Regions from separate parts of the Homo sapiens genome. Here region 1 is linked to region 2. The links are contacts of gene promoters, found by promoter capture Hi-C in blood cells and fetal thymus (Javierre and others, 2016). All regions are on one chromosome and are shown on one strand. Each heading gives the region's core, a stretch centred on a gene start or on the middle of the fragment in contact. The rest is flanking DNA. Distances are from core to core; before and after follow the strand shown.

The links. Contacts are between HindIII fragments. The CHiCAGO score rates a contact against its expected background, and 5 or more counts as called.
Region 1: a fragment that was not itself captured here is called in contact with the fragment with the promoter of TLCD4 in region 2 in 1 of 17 cell types (naive B cells); the score reaches 5.2 in naive B cells.

Annotation. Positions count from the first base shown.
Region 1 is chr1:94,870,326-94,874,050 of GRCh38, forward strand. The region is part of intron 12 of SLC44A3 (solute carrier family 44 member 3); the gene reads left to right. Among named protein-coding and RNA genes, the nearest start is that of SLC44A3, 52 kb to the left of the region's middle. RefSeq lists an enhancer at 3,548-3,717. The HindIII fragment of the contact is 735 bases long and covers 1,500-2,234 here.
Region 2 is chr1:95,115,625-95,119,597 of GRCh38, forward strand. It overlaps TLCD4 (TLC domain containing 4), which reads left to right and starts at 1,731. Exons shown (of 7, transcript NM_152487.3): 1 at 1,731-1,993. It overlaps TLCD4-RWDD3 (TLCD4-RWDD3 readthrough), which reads left to right and starts at 2,299. Exons shown (of 8, transcript NM_001199691.1): 1 at 2,299-2,467. RefSeq lists a cis regulatory region at 1-483 and silencers at 1,738-1,884, 1,812-2,091, 2,172-2,221. The HindIII fragment of the contact is 12,433 bases long and covers 1-3,973 here.

The sequences.
Region 1 (3,725 bases), core at 617-3,116, 250 kb before region 2:
TGCAAAAGGCAAGCCTCCAAGAAATTGACAAGCTAGTTGTTGGGAGCCAGGGGCCAGTAAGTGGTATATGCATGAGACATTTATATGACAGTACAGAAAAGTACATGTTTAAGTGTTGGGATAGGGCTGTGGAAGTTCAGAAAAGGGGAATCTTGGTCACTGGGAGAGGTCATTTGACTCTGTAATTAGGGGAAATTTCCTAGGAGAGGTGGACCTGAGTATAGAGCACCCACTGGAGATCACCAGCTACTAACGACAGCAATAACAGCTGTGGGTATTGGCAATAAACTATTTTGCCAGTTGTATGCTGAGCACTTTTCCTGCATTATATCAGTTGTTAGGTTTTTTGTTTTCGTTTTTGTTTTCTTTTGTTTGAGACGGAGTTTTGCTCCTGTTGCCCAGGCTGGAGTGCAGTGGCACAATCTCAGCTCACTGCAACCTCTGCCTCCCGGGTTCAAGTGATTCTCCTGCCTTATCCTCCGGAGTAGCTGGGACTACAGGCACATGCCACCACATGCTAAGTTTTTGTGTTTTTAGTAGAAACGGCATTTCACCATGTTGGCCAGGCTGGTCTTGAACTCCTGACCTCAGGTGATTTACCCGCCTTGGCCTCCCAAACTGCAGAGATCACAGGCATGAGCCACCATTCGTGGCCAGTTGTTAGTTTTTGAGATAGTGTCTCCAGTTTACAGATAGGGAGATTGAGGCTTAGAGGAGGCACATAGTGGCAGAACTAGGATTTGAATCCAAGTCTGTTTTCCCTCCAGGACCCAAGCCCTTAACCACTGTGCATTTTTAAAATAGCCAGAGGAGGACTCATGACCACCACCTGGGGATGTGAGCAAAGCCAGAGTCCAGACAAGTAGAGCTGGCAGAGCACATCTTGTTACACAGCAGACTTTTGTGGAGGAAGACGGGAAAGGTGAAGGAGCAATGAAGATGATGAACTCACTGTAACTGTAATCAAGCAGTTATCCATCCAGAAAAGGCTGGTCAGGGTGGCCTGGCCCCTCCTCCTTTCCTCAGGCAAGTTAGTGGTCAAAGCGTCTGGGAGTGTTGGCTGGCCATTCTCAGAGACTTTCAGGCAAAGGGACCTTACAGCCTCCCCTCTCCCTCCCAGCACTTTCCAGGGGCCTGGCTAAGAACCCCACTGTGAGACTACAGGCTAAGCACTCAGCAAGAATGGTGTACTTACTGTTTCTTACCAGGTCTGCACACAGTTCCTCATGGAAATGTCTCCCTAAGTGCACATCTCTTGTCCATTGTGGACACAGGCCTCTGTCCCAGCCATGATGTTGGCTTTAGGTCAATGTTCCTCTAAGTATGAAACCCACTGGTGAGCCCCAGGACTCTTCCTGATGGTTCCAAACTGATCTGAACATTCTAGAAAATCCTTTTTTCAATTTTTATAGGCAAATAGCAGGATTCCATAGGTTTTTCATTTTTGCATACAACAAGGAGCTGTTTGCCAATCAATAAAGTAAAGCGTGTGTTATTAAAGCTTACTAAAATGTGTTCTTTATAAATCCAAATTGGTGTCTTAACATAGTTTCTTAAGGACTCAAACTCATTACTCTTTTCAGACATCTAACTGCCGAGGCAATGCCTGGTGACCCTGCAAAATTTATGAATGCACACACGTAGACAGTTGGGATTTGCAAACTGGGAAAAGAACACTTCGCTACCACCAGTGTTGCCTTGAGTTGACTGTGTTGTTTGGTTGCAGTCATTCTTGTCTTGATGTTTTACTTCTGTTGAGTATTCCATTTATTTTTTTATTTTTTATTTTTTTTGAGACAGAGTTTCACTCTTGTTGCCCAGGCTGGAGTGCAATGGCACGATCTCGGCTCACTACACCCTCCGCCTCCCAGGTTTAAGTGATTCTCCTGCCTCAGCCTCCCGAGTAGCTGGGATTACAGGCTTGTCCCACCACACCTGGCTGATTTTGTATTTTTAGTAGGGATGGGGTTTCTCCATGTTGGCTGGTCTCGAACTCCTGACCTCAGGTGATCCACCCACCTCAGCCTCCCAAAGTGCTGGAATTACAGGTGTGAGCCACCGTGCCCGGCCTTTTGTTTATTCATTCTTTTTTTTTTTAAATCACTTTAAGCATTGCATTCCTCTTCAATGCTTTGTTCTTCTTCCAGCAGAAGTGGGAATGGGTATAGGCAATGAGCTGTGGGCTAGTGTCAGAAGTCTGAGAACCACCATATCTATACCAGTCTCCTGGGAGAAGCTTCCAGGTAAAAATGACTTCAGTCAGGTATAGCAGCAGTTTGCCTCTGCCTCTTCATTATTTGAGTAACTTGGGTGAGTCCCTTAAACTTGCTGAGCTTCTGCAATATGAAAGGGTTAGATTCAGTGACCCCCAAGGTTCTTATGTGGCTTTTTGACCCTTGTCATGGCATCCAGCCCAGAGCTGGGGGCATGCACAGTGCTGCCCCACAGCATCAAAGCCATGAGATGCTTTGTGTGGGAAATGGGGGGAGAGTGGAAAACAATATGAGCTGTTTGTTTTCCTGTGGTGTTCCAAAATGACAGGCTCATTTCTCTTCATGATATACCTTGTATCCATGGTGAGGACTTATCCTAGAACCACAAAAATCAGTGATGTTTCATGTTGCCTCAATTCTGAGGCACTGGAATCTTGTAGAGTTGTCTGAGAATGTGAATGAACAAAGAGGAGCCATTTATCTGTATCTACTTACAGCGATCCTGCCAGTAGTTCTGCTATAACATATAGTGATAAATAAAATAACTGGTGATGAGATACTGGTCAAATGCCAGGCAGCTCAGTCATTCTCAACAGTAGGAGTGTACTGTAATGTCCAATGCCTTTCACAGCCCTTTTCTGCCTTGGGCTATCATGCAAGATAGCTGCGAGCCTGATGGATCTGTGCTGCATCCCCTTGAGGAGGGAACCAAGTGACCCCGATGCACCTTGATGCAGTGTGTAAAGCGTGCAGCTTACTTTCCTTTGTCATCCCTCTAGATAAGATCTAGTAAGTACATGTACAGATTGTTGCCTCTTGCTATTTGATCAGAAATGCCAGCAGCTTCCTGTCTTTCTGACTGATGAATATACTGGTCAGAAAGGTCCCAGATAATCTTGTGAAGGTCAAGGCAGAGAAAAACCTGCTGCTTCTGGGGAAATATACACCTCTCTCCCCTTCTTACCTCATAGTGCCTCTCCCCAACCTGCTCTGCCTGCCAAGACTGTTTTTAGTGAACATAATGTTGGTCTCTGTCTTCTAAGCCTTTGCGGCAGACTCAACTTTGTAGTATCTCCAAACATTCTCTTCCCCCGCCCCTTTCCTTGCAGTTAGCTCTGTTTCAATGACTGTCTTTCTCGTAGTCCATCAATAGCTAAAGCACTCAATGACTTTTCCACATCAGGTTTGGTTGGTTCATCCCAAGCCAGTTGGCAGATCTCCAGTGACTCCTCCTTTCTGCTCTCCCAGAGCAGCATGTGCATCTCAGAAAAAAAGTAAAAATATTGTACAGTTTATCTCACTAGATTAGGAAAATGATGTAAAGTTTCTTAAGAAGAAACAGTTCTTTCAGAAGCTGGCATTGCCATAATAGGTAGTCTCATCACGTAGCATCCAGACAGCCATTCTTTCAGTGACAGCGGTGGTTCTGAATCCTCCACCCCTGCTGACTGGTTTAGAGCTATTCTGGGCAGCCAGCTGATGTTGAGAGCTCTGGAGAGATGCCTCGTGTGT
Region 2 (3,973 bases), core at 481-2,980:
TTCATGAGGCATTTGTAGAGGCCTAATATGAAGGAATATAGTGGGACATAGAGTATAGTGGATTTCTGTGGGTTTACCTGGCTTTGGTTACTGCTGTTGGTGTTAGAGAATTATGCATATCAAAGATAATGATGGTGCATTTATCAGGAAAGAACAGAGCTACTATCAGCCACCAGAGACTAGCATGGGAGAGTTTCTGTAGGAGGTAGTGTTGATACAGACTCTTGAGAGGACACTGTGAAATTGGTATTTTCTGGGCTGACTTCACAGATGTTCACATATAACCATCCTGCCCACAGAGAGTTATGAAATAGCTATGTGAGTGCACAAGGTAGCTATTGCGCAAACCAAAGTTGTCAGGTACTGCACATATTGTGAAGGGACTATGATGGGACACCGTGTGGTTCAAAGAGCACTGGAGCCCTGGTACATCCTGAGAGTCTTGGGGAGAAAAAGGGGAACACGCATTTGGGGGCCTGAAAGATCTTTCTCTCTGCTTGACTGCAGGGCAGGTTTCTGTCCCTCCCTGTTCTGTGGTATAGATTTTGTCTTTTCCACATCAGTCCAGGTCTTCAGAGTCACTATGAATTATTATTACCATTTTAAAGATGAAGAAATTGAGCCTCAGTGAGGTTCAGTTAGCTAAAGGCACACAACTCTAATAAACTGACAGAATTCCAGGTTCTGATTTAAATTCTATTGCCCTCTCTTGAAAATAAACATGGACAGCTTATATGAGCTTTTGTGTATATATTTTCTGGTCTAAATCTGCGGCAGATATGTGTGTCTTTCTGCGCATGTATATAGTAGATCAAATATGTTAGCTCTATTGACATTTCTTAGAAATAAATATCCTGTTATCAATGATAGTGTTTACAAATTATTTATTTAGAACTTACCTCTTTTCAAGAAAAGGCCTTGTGATTGCTCTCTGCGAATTATAATGCATGAGTATACCTCTTTGTTATTTTGTTTTGTTTCAGACAATTATCTCTGGTTGATGCAGATCACTTGGAGGCTTTTGGGGCTGTATATAACAGGTCAGAACATCTATTTAATGTCAAACTTTATCTACTAGGCAACTTGGAATTCTCAGCCAGCACCAAATATTCAAATCCAACTTCCACACCCCGACAACAGAGGGGTTCCGGGTGTAGGTGTAGTGCTGGTGCACCCATGAGGGTGTTTTTCAGGAATTCTGGAGGTGGTGCTGGAGAGAACACGCTTCTTCTACACGCGCCCCCTACCAGTTTGGTATGCACCTGCAGCCCCAAAGAAGAACTGGCGGGACTCGAGTGTGGCCGTGTCAGACGTGGCAAGAAAAACCAGCAGTTGCCTTTTCATCTCTTTTCTGATGATCTAACCATGAAGTCCCCAGTATTTGAGCATTTAAGGCAGAATGTAAATTCATAATTTAAGAAGATTTTTTGTTACGTGGCTAGCCCAGGTACTGACCGCTGCGGGGGCGGGCTCACACAGTTCCCCCGCTGGCAAGTTTTGTGACTTGCTTTGGAAAACCCGGGAATTGCACCCTCTGCCCTTGGCAAGGTGTGAGCTTCCAGGATCTCTCCGCTGCGACTTCGGGTGTTAGGGTTTTTGGGCTCTTTCCGGGACCCAAGTTCCAGGGCAAGAAGGTCTGCTCGGCGGCCCGCCTCGGGGCCCCGCCCACTTTGGCCAGGGTCGGAGCCGCCCGGAGCGGGAGCCGGAGCCCGAGCGGCCGCGGCCCCTTTAAGGAGCAGCTCTGCGGTAACCCGAGCCCGCAGTCCGGGCGGGCGCGACGGCCGCCGCGGTAGCTGGAGCCTCCGCGACTGCACCTCCAAGCGGCCCGGAACCCGCGGCTTCCCTGGCTCCCGTGAGCATCTCACCGGGCGGCACTGGCCAGCGCCAGCCCTCGGGCCGGCCCGGATGAGCAGACTCCTGTAGACACCCGCCGCCCTCTCCCGGCTCGGCGCAGCCGCCGCCCGCGCGCGACTCGCCCCGGGACCCGGCACAGGTGACGCCGTTTGGAGGGGGGGTTGGGGAGGAAGGCGGGCTTGCCTCGCCCCGCGGCTCCCCCGCGCCAGCCGCCAAGCGCAGCCCGCGGAGAGGGGTGCCGCGGCTTCCCGCCCCTGGCCTAGCGCGGCCGAGAGCTCCTGCGCCTGGAGGCTGGGTGGGCGTCCGGCGCGCGGGAGGCGGCCCGGGGCTCCCGGGCGGGCTCCGGCAGGTGTGTGCGGAAGGCTCAGCATCGTCCCCGCCCGGCGGGCCACGGCGTCGCTCCGGGAGCAAATGGTGTCCCGGGGCCCGCGGCCCCCGCGCCGCCCGGGCGCCCCGCATTCCTCTCGCGTTTCTCGGGCTGCACGATTCCGGCTGCCCTGTCTGCCTGGCGGTGCCTCTCGGGTCTGAGCTTAAAGCGGGTGGGTGCAAACCTTTGGGCATCCAGGGAGAGCTTTCTTGTTAGAGCCCACACACAATCGGGCGCATCAAGTGGGTAAGTCCCCCTCCCCCGCCGCCACCTTCTGAAACAAGTAGCTCTTATTTACCCTTGCAGTTCTCAAGTGGGTCCCATTTTTAGCCACTGAGTGCTGAAAAGTCTAGTGGGAAGGGACCAGGCGTAGAGTCGGAGGGAGAAATTGGTTTCTATTTCCATCTTTACCTCTGTAACCCCTAAGTGCCTCGGTTTACCCAGCCATGAAATGGGATTCGTAATGCCAGCAGTTTCCTACCCCTCCAAGACGGCAGAAAAACCTCTGTGAAAACACTTTGAGTCTAAATTCATTTAAGAGTCGCTGTTGCTGGTCTGTATATTTTTAATTGTACACACATTTGAGTGTTAATGTGGTGCACACTTTTATATGAAATTATGAAATTTACTTTAAAGACTGATCTTGGATAATGTTTAATCCAAATACCAGTTTGGAGAAGATGGAAGAGTTTGTGTGGACCCTAGGAATTGATGTGTGAAATAGGAAAAAAGATTTAATAAAATCTTTACGCAGTCATAAATGGAGTTGAGAAAAATTGACCTTGGATTGTGGTGTTTTAAGTGAGTTACTCCCGTGCCAGCGCATGGTGTCGATTGAAATGTAGCTTCATCTTTGTGTAGCCGATTAAGGTAATAAGTTAGAGAATCCCAGCTCCCTTTTAATTGTGCTATATATGAGGAATTTTTATCCTTGCTTATCTTTTCCTTAAATTGGGCGAAACGAAATTAGAAAAGTGTATTCCCGCCGTGTTAGAAAATATGAAAGAATGGGTGAAGAACCATGGATTTTAGTTTATTTGCCACGCCCCTCCTGTGCCATCTGATAACCCAGAGAATATTTTGAGGGTGCTTCTTTTTTTTTCTACGCCTGCAACTCCTTTTGTCCCATTACCTCCCTCTGGAGTTTGAATCTTTACTGTCCTCATCCTTGAGATGAATTTTATCTGTTTAGGCTGGATGCCTCTGACCCAGCTGCCCAATCAGTCATTATTTATTTACAGTATTAGATTTCCATTTATATTCATTTCACTCTAAGCCTTCTTTACCCTGGTGGAAAGAATAATGGGTCTTTGCTACTAATGCTTTATACTTGGAGGTGAACTAGGAATGGCATGCTCAAGGTGCTGAGACTAATGCAAACCCCAGGGAAGCTAGGTCTTCACTGGAGTCTTCTGAATAGGTCCTGGAGTACAGATGCAAGAGTTGGCCTGTCTTTTCCTTGATTTTCTGAAATCTCCACTGGGTAAATTCATCTGATTGCCAAGGGAAGTCTTATGAGCAGGGAGCTATCAGAAATCTGAGTGTTAGACTGATTAAGAGCCTTCCCTGCAAAAGACTGGGGAGAAAGAAGTAGTGGCTTTGTAGGTGTTGGAGAGTCCTCCCTGTAACCAGATAACTAGTAGGAAGTAAAGGATCCCTAGATTCCCAATTGAGAAATGGGAAAGGGGCTGGGTTTCAAAAGGGAAGTGGCACAGCTTCTAGGCAGGTTTGGGAATGTACCTGAGGTTTGAT